Regions from separate parts of the Homo sapiens genome. Here all the other regions are linked to region 1. Evidence: promoter capture Hi-C in 16 types of primary human blood cells and fetal thymus (Javierre and others, 2016). All regions are on one chromosome and are shown on one strand. The core of a region is centred on a gene start or on the middle of the fragment in contact, and the rest is flanking DNA. Distances in the headings are between cores, read along the strand shown. Region 1 holds the start of MED13L (mediator complex subunit 13L). Region 2 overlaps FBXW8 (F-box and WD repeat domain containing 8). Region 3 overlaps TESC (tescalcin).

Region 1 (2,700 bases), core at 6-2,505:
CAGGGCTCAAGTTATCCTCCCACCTCAGCCTTTCGAGTAGCTAGGGCTACAGGCACATGCCACACTACGCCTGGCTAATTTTTGTATTTTTGTATTTTATTTTTTTTGTCATGACGGGGGTTCTTGCTACATTGCTCAGGCTGGTCTTAAACCTCGGCTAGGATTACCGGCGTGAGCCACTGTGCCAGCCATCCACTCTTCCTCTTTTAGCTTAATCTACCTGAAACAGCTGATTGTTCCATGTTTGGAGGCGTATTAGTGAAGACATTGTTTTCTCCTCCCCCTTTTCGGGGATCCATTTCTTGAGGACTGGGAGAGCTTCTCTTCATAGCAGCACTCCTCCGGACTCCCAGGCCATATACACTCAGGAAATGTTGGTTATCCAATGAATGACGCCAGGAAGAAGGGTCTGCTCCCAACACGGCCTTAGCACAGTGCCTGGAAGTTATAACAGATTCTGGCACACAGCAGGAGCTCAGGAAACATTTATGTAATGAATGAATGAATGAATGAATGAGTGCACACAGTAACTAGGAGTAAGGGCTCAATAAACATTTCTGTATTAAACGCACAGTGTCTGGAACACAGTAAGCGCTCCGTCTATGGCAGCCGTGAATATCCCTGGGCGAAGCCTGTGAAACCTTGTCCAAGAGCTTGGCTTCACTGTGCGCGGGTTCGAATCTGGACTCCTCTTCCCAAGTGTGCGACCTCGGGCAAGTGATTTAATCCCTTTGTGCTTTAGTTTTCTCCTCTGCAAAAGGCGGACGGCGGCGCGAGCCTCTGAGGACACATTCCCCAGGGCACTCGGACCCGCTGCCTGGCCCACATCGCGGCCGCCGCGCCACGCCAGCCGGCCTGGGCTGCGAGGGCACAGGCCGGGGGTCCCGCGCCCTCCTCCGCGGCCACCACGGGCGCGCCCGGGACCCACGGTCCCGCCCCGCCACGATCAGTGCACCGCGAGGGGGCGGGGCGGCCACGAGGGGCAGCCCACGGCAGCCACGGGCCGGCAGTCCGCCGCCCGCCGGGGAGCCCGGCCGCCCGCACTTCTTTCTCTCCCTCTCTGCCTCCCTCCCTCCCTCTTCCCGGCCGGAGGACCCGGCCGCGCTCAGCTCAGCAGCGCCTCCCGCGAGCCGCCGCCGCCGCCGCCACTCCGGACCCCTCCCCCGCCCGCCCCTCGCTCCCCCCGCGCGGCCGGCGCCCGTCACGTGACCAAGCGCCAGCCAATGGCGGGCCGAGCCGCGGTCGGCGGCCGCCATTGCTGTCAGAGCAAGCGAGCCCGGGGAGGGAGGAGAAGCGAGGCTGACTGGGGAGGAGGGGGGGGTGGGGGAGGAAGAGGAAGGAGGGGACGTCGCTCGGCTGCCGGGGTCGCCCGCTGGCTTCGTCCGCACCCCCCCCTTCGCGAGTTCGCGCTCCGCGGCGGCGGCGGCTCCGAGGCGGCGGCGGCGGCTCCGGGGCTCGCCTCCCCTCGCGCGCCGGCGGGGGCCGAGGGGGAGTCGGTGGCTGGAGATAAACAAGGCGGCGGCAGCGGCAGCAGCGGCGGCGGCGGCGGCTGAGGAGCAGGGAAGGCGGAGGCGGTGGCCGGCCCGCAGCGCCGGCCCGGGGCGCGCGCCCCCCCCGCCAGCCCGGGCCCGCTGCCCCCGGCGCGGCGTCGCCGCGGCGCCTCCCGCCTGCCCGCCGGCCCTCGCGCCCTCCCCCGGCGGCGGCGGCGGCCCGGCCGCCCCGCGCTCCCCGGCGAGGCGCCGCCGCCCGGCCCGGCCTCGCCTCGGACGCCTCGCTCCGACATGCCCCGCTCTGGCGGCCGGGCTCGCGGAGGATCATGACTGCGGCAGCGAACTGGGTGGCGAACGGGGCGAGCCTGGAGGATTGTCACTCCAACCTCTTTTCGCTGGTGAGTAGCCGGGCTGCGGGGAGGGGGCTGTGCCGGGGAAGGGGGGGGGTCCCCGACCTCCGCCGCCGACCAACTTTCTCCTCCCGCCGCCGGGACTTCGCCCCTCCCTCGCGTCTCCCCGCCGTTCGCCTCTCGCCGATTCTCCCCCTTTTGGATCGTCTCTCTCTCGCCTTGGATCCCATCCAGTGTTTATTTGGCTCTTTAAAAATCATTTGTGAGCGCGGCGCTCGGCGTGGAATTTGCATGTGGAAGTCTCGGAGCTGCGGATTCTGGGTCGCACTTCGAACGCCCACCCTCTGTTGCAATCGCACTCCCCTTCTCCTCCCCTTTCCCCCCTTTTTTTCCCCCCGTAAATGTGGAAGGCTTTGCCTTGTGCTGCCGCGCCTCCGATCGGCAACCTCTTCCCCCGTTGTTGGATCAGCTGCCTGCCCGCCCGCCTGCCTTTTGAATTTTTTTAAATTCCATAATGACACCTGCAATTTCGCCCTAAAATAGTTGATTGAATGCGATTGTGTCAGGAAAGGACTCTTGCACCCGAAGCTCCCGCGATTGTAAACATCGACAGCCGCCTGCCTCTCGGGGCTTACTATGCTGGAGAGCCGTAAAGCCATTGCACCGAGCCGACGGAAGGTGGAGAAAGCTTTTTCTTCTTTCTCTCCTCCTGTGTCTTTTAAAAACTGTTTTTCTCTATCCTAACAACGAATCCGCACACACACACACACACACACACACACACACACACACACACACAAAAGCAACAAGCTGGTCGGTTTGATAACATCGCTTTTATCTGCCTTCGCCTCTCTCGCGCT
Region 2 (2,700 bases), core at 74-2,573, 650 kb before region 1:
GTCCCTTCCTAGGCAATGCCTTTGGCCAAACAAGCTGACTCACCCAGGTTGCATCCCCTCCCACCCCACTAAGGCAGCCTGTATCCAATGACTAGTCCATGGCTGGGTACAAAGGCCTGGCCCCCTTGCTCAGTTCAGGACCTCTCTGAAAGGAAAACCCACTAAACCACCTACATGCAAATCTCCATTTCAGAATCTATTTTTTGAAAAGTTCAATCTTTTTTTTTTTTAACCAAAGTGATAGACATGACCCACGATAGTCCTGTGTTCAATATATTCCCAAGGTTTCTTAAGCACACCTCCAGAGACATTAGTCTAGGTAAGCTACTTCCTCTCCCCTACTTGAGGAGGATACTAGAATGCAGGTAAATGAGTGACATCACTCCACCAGACAAACCAGAGTAAATTCAAGGTTTAGTAACTAATTCATCAACTTCAGTTTGTTATTATTGGAAATATCATTTGAGAAACACCTTACAAGAGGCAGAGTTGTGAGCATATTTGGCCCTGTGGTTGAAAACACACCTCTTTTATTAGTGTGCATGATCTGACAAGGATATGAAGCCACATCCTGGACAAAAGCTGTGGTCTAGTAACCACATAAATCCTACTACTGTCGGGCAGCAGAATGTCTTAGGCACTCTGATTGGGTACTTCCCACAGTTCATAAATGTAGGTTAAAAACACTACTTGCTACTAGTGTGCAGAGAAATACCTTGTTATCTAAAACACACTATCAGACAGAGGTTGGTTAATGGATATAAAAGTGCAGCTAGACAGGAGGAATGAGTTCTGGTTCTCTGTGGCACTACAGGTTGACTATAATTCACAACAATTTATTGTATATTTTCAAATAGCTAGAAGAACAGATTTTGAATGTTTACAACACAAATAATAAACGTTTTAGGTGATGGATACATTAATTACCCTGATTTGGTCAATATACATTGTATACATATATGACACCGTGCCCCATAAATATGTACAATTATAATGTGTCCATTAAAAATAAATAAATAAAGATGCTATCAGTGTTCCACCTAGACTACTGCGAAGCACATAGCCATCCAAAAAGTTATGGGCCACGTTAACCCAACTCTACACTGACTTAAAAACATGAAAATGGACAACACTGACTTAAAAACATGAAAATGGACAACCTGTCATTTCAGAAACAAAGATATTCCAAGAAGAAGGAAAAGGAATTAAAGACATTAGAAATATTAAAATAGAGAAATCTGGTCAAACTATAAAAATATCAACATGGCTACAATATTTAGAGAAAGTAATTTTGGGCCGGGTGCAGTGGCTCACGCCTGTAATCCCAGCACTTTGGGAGGCCGAGGCAGGCGGATCACGAGGTCAGGAGATGGAGATCATCCTGGCTAACATGGTGAAACCCCGTCTCTAATAAAAAAATTAGCCGGGCCTGGTGGCAGGCGCCTGTAGTCCCAGTTACTCAGGAGGCTTAAGTAGAAGAACGGCGTGAACTTGGGAGGCGGAGCTTGCAGTGAGCCGAGATCGCGCCACTGCACTCCAGCCCGGGCGACAGAGCAAGACTCCGTCTCAAAATAAATAAATAAATAAATTAATTAATTAATTAAAAATACAAAAAATTAGCCGGGTGTGGTGGCAGGCGCCTGTAGTCCCAGCTACTCGAGAGGCTGAGCCAGGAGAATGGCGTGAACCCGGCAGGCAGAGCTTACAGTGAGCCGAGATCGCGCCACTGCACTCCAGCCTGGGTGACAGAGCGAGCGAGACTCTGTCTCAAAACAAAAAAAAAAAGAAAATAATTTTGCAGTAGTTGAATAGCTCTCAGCAATGTGAGACTGGCCAAATTTATTCTATAGGAAACCAATAAATTCAAAATATTAGTATTCCTTCAATGTTAAGGAAAAGTATCTGTTTGATAACATACAACCTTGCTTTTAATTCTTTGACAATGTCTCAGATATCGATTCTCTACCACTATTGGGGACTTTCGTCCTGTATTACACATTAAAATCACCTGTGGAATTTAAAAAAAAAAATGCCAAGGGCCCTACCAAGACCTACTGCCCTGAATTTCCAGGGTTAGGGCTCAAGCACCTCCTTTTCTTTTGAGACAGAGTCTCGCTCTGTCGCCCAGTCTGGAGTGCAGTGGCACGATCCTGGCTCAATGAAACCTCTGCCTCCCAGGTTCAAGCGATTCTCATGCCTCAGCCTCCCAAGTAGCTGAGATTACAGGCACACATCACCACATCTAGCTAATTTTTGTATTTTTTAGTAGAGACAGGGTTTTGTCATGTTGGCCAGGCTAGTCTCGAACTCTCGGCCTCCACCTGCCTTGGCCTCTCAGAGTGCTGGGATTACAGGCATGAGCCACTGCACCCGGCCTCAAGCACCTCTTTCTCAGGCGATCCTCATGCACACTAAAAGTTGAGAACACAACCATACATCATAGGCAGATATAAAAATCTATCCATCCCCTTTTTCCTAGTCAAGGGAAAAAAAACACACACACACACACTCAAAGGGGTCATATTACTTATTTAATTTAAAGTCAGTGAATACTAGATTTTCCCAAAGTCTACTGGACTTACTCCAAAAACACTGAGAGAAATTGCAAAGAGATCCATCCCCAGGGAGGCTGATTTGTATTCCTATGTGCTAATGTAAGACTAATTCTGTAAATGGATTGGTTTTGTGCCTTACTGTTAG
Region 3 (2,700 bases), core at 116-2,615, 800 kb before region 1:
AGCTGGGACCACAGGCATGTGCCATCACACCCAGGTAATTTTTTATTTACTTTTATTTTCGTAGAAGCAGGGTCTTGCTATGTTGCTCGGGCTGGTCTTGAACTCCTGGGCTCAGGTGATCCTCCTGCCTTAGCTTCCCAAAGTGCTGGGACTACAGCCATGCACCACCACACCAGCTAATTTTTTAAAGTTTTTGTAGAGATGGGGGTCTCACTATGTTGCCCAGGCTGGTCTCAAACTCCTGGCCTCAAGCAGTCCCCTCATTTCTACCTCCCAAAGTGCTGGCACTACAGGTGTGTACCGCTGCACCAGACCTGTTAATTGTTTTGTATTTTTTTTTTTTGAGACGTGGTCTTGCTATGTTACCCAGGGTGATCTTGAACTCCTGAGCTCAAGCAGTCCCCCCGCCTCAGCCTCCTGAGTGGCTGGGATTACAAGCGAGTGCTGCTTGAGTTACTTACAGCTGGGTTAGTGAGAGGTCCTTGCCAGTGACTTGATCGTCACACAGAGTTCATGGGGAAGCTTCAAGTTGAACAAATTTCTACCATAAACTTCTAACAGATGTAGTTTCCTAAAATAAGCATTCAGAGTCTCAAGGTTACAGCTTGTTGGAACTTTGAAACAAACCTTCTAATACTCCAGGGAAACTTCCTTCTTGGTAAACAGACTTAAATTTCCCCTAGGTTTTATGGAAACTGACATATAAATGTCCACTTTCTCTTGTTTGTCTAAACACAGGCATATTGTTAATCCAGTATATTTCATTCTTAATTTCAAGAGCTCAGATTCTGACGGTCTCATGATTCTTGTGGCCTCTGGTCTCAGTTTGATTGCATCCAAGGCCGACTTAAAGACAATTAAGATTTATACCTTTAATTCTAGACATCTTGCCCACCAAGCCCAGTGGAGGAGAGAGAACCTGAGCCCAGCGGAAGAGTCACCTGGCTTCTCATTGGCTCTGATGGGGTCACGGGCCTGAGTCTGAGCCAATCGCCATGGCCAAAGACCAGACATGCAAATGTTTTCCCCTAGAGCTATAAGGGCATGGGGCCTGGGGTCAGTTTCCTCCAAGGACAGGGATGGAGGGCGGGTGGTTTCAACCAGGGCAAGGTGAAACCTCCTTGGTCCATAGGCTGAGGAGTGTGTAGCATGACACAAGTCAGCCAGGCACTGAGATCTAGCGGGGAGGTGGCATATATGGACACTGGATGCTGGAAAACAGTGTCAAGGGCGTGCTTTGCTTGTTCCTTCAGAAGTTAATGAGCAGCCTGGGCAACATAGCAAGACCCTTTCTCTACAAAATATTTAAAAATTAGCCAGGTCTGGTGATGCACACATGTAGCTCTGGCTACTTGGGAAGCTGAGGCAGGAGGATCACTTGAACCCAGGGGTTCAAGACTGCAGTGGGCTATGAGTGCACCACTGTACTCCAGGCTGGGCAACAGAGCAAGACCCTGTCTCTTAAAAAGTTCATGAGCATCTGCTCTGCGCCAGGTGCTTGGTACCTACGCTGGTAGCTGCAGCCGCTATGGAGCTCACAGTGGAGGATGTGGGAAGGCAGAGCCCCTTTGTCCTCAAGACAGTTTTCCAGCAAGTGGAGCCCCCAGCCCTGTAACAAACTGCCTTGGACTTATTGTTATGCATCTGATGTTAGATCCATCCAACTTTGGGTGGTGAACTTTAGGTTCATATTCTACATGCATAGAGATGCAGAGGCAAAAACCCAGGCTTCGGAGTCCAACTGTATTAGAATCCTTCATGCCATTGGCTTTGTGGCTTCGGGCTGGTTACTTCCTTTCTCTGAGCTGGTCTCCTCATCTGGAAAGTGAGCATGGTCACTTGGGATTTGATTTGAGCATTAAAAATGAGCAGTCGGCCGGGCACTGTGACTCACGACTATAATCTCAGCACTTTGGGAGGCCAAGGCTGGAGGATCGCTTGAGCCCAACCTGGGCAACACAGTGAGACCCCATCTCTAGGGGGAAAAAAAAGCAGGTGCAAGCAGGGCAGTTTAGCTCTAAGCTGGGTTCACAGGCATTTGGCAAATGGGGCTATTCTTCCACCCCATCCTGAGGGTCTAATCTGAGTGTGGTGGGGGCCCAGGTGCTGTGTGAGGAGGAGGATATGAGGCTGTTGGAGGCCCCTCCCACTTTTAGGTTCTAGGCGCTGAGCCCTGATGCATTGCCTAGCACCCCATCATAAGCTTACAATGGGACGTACTAAAATGGCATTCCCTACAACAGTTTTTTTCCAACTTGACTGTGCTCGAATCACCTGGGAATCTTGCTGCCATGCAGGTTTTGCTTCTGCAGTTCTAGGGTGGGGCCTGAGACTCTGCATTTCTAACAAGTGCCTCCGTTGCCCAGCACTGTGGACAGCACACAGTAGGTCCTCCATGGTTGAGTGGGTGGAGCGTCCTCCTCCTGCAGGAGCTGAGCTGGCGCGGCCTCTCTGTGCTGATGGCGCCGGACTCCTACCTCCCAGGCCTCACCTGCCCAGGCTCAGCTTAGAAATGTGAGCCGTTGGTCCTGCCCTGCCACCCCAAACCCTGTTTGCCCCTCTCCTGCACACCCATCCCCAGGACCTCATATGTAGCACCCTTGCACAAGCCCTCAGTGTGCCTGCCTGGCAGGGTCATTCAAAGGAGCTAGTGAGCAGCCTCTGCTCAACAGCCCTCTTGATGGCTACCCAGTGCCATCA

What was found. Contacts are between HindIII fragments. The CHiCAGO score rates a contact against its expected background, and 5 or more counts as called.
Region 2: a fragment that was not itself captured here is called in contact with the fragment with the promoter of MED13L in region 1 in 1 of 17 cell types (naive CD8 T cells); the score reaches 6.6 in naive CD8 T cells.
Region 3: a fragment that was not itself captured here is called in contact with the fragment with the promoter of MED13L in region 1 in 1 of 17 cell types (neutrophils); the score reaches 5.1 in neutrophils.

Annotation. Positions count from the first base shown.
Region 1 is chr12:116,276,248-116,278,947 of GRCh38, reverse strand. MED13L (mediator complex subunit 13L) reads left to right here and starts at 1,255. Exons shown (of 31, transcript NM_015335.5): 1 at 1,255-1,888. The coding sequence starts at 1,817. RefSeq lists silencers at 847-906, 957-1,426. The HindIII fragment of the contact is 4,130 bases long and covers 1-2,530 here.
Region 2 is chr12:116,922,607-116,925,306 of GRCh38, reverse strand. The region is part of intron 1 of FBXW8 (F-box and WD repeat domain containing 8); the gene reads right to left. Among named protein-coding and RNA genes, the nearest start is that of FBXW8, 13 kb to the right of the region's middle. The HindIII fragment of the contact is 6,125 bases long and covers 1-2,700 here.
Region 3 is chr12:117,071,557-117,074,256 of GRCh38, reverse strand. The region is part of intron 2 of TESC (tescalcin); the gene reads left to right. Among named protein-coding and RNA genes, the nearest start is that of TESC, 27 kb to the left of the region's middle. The HindIII fragment of the contact is 1,681 bases long and covers 525-2,205 here.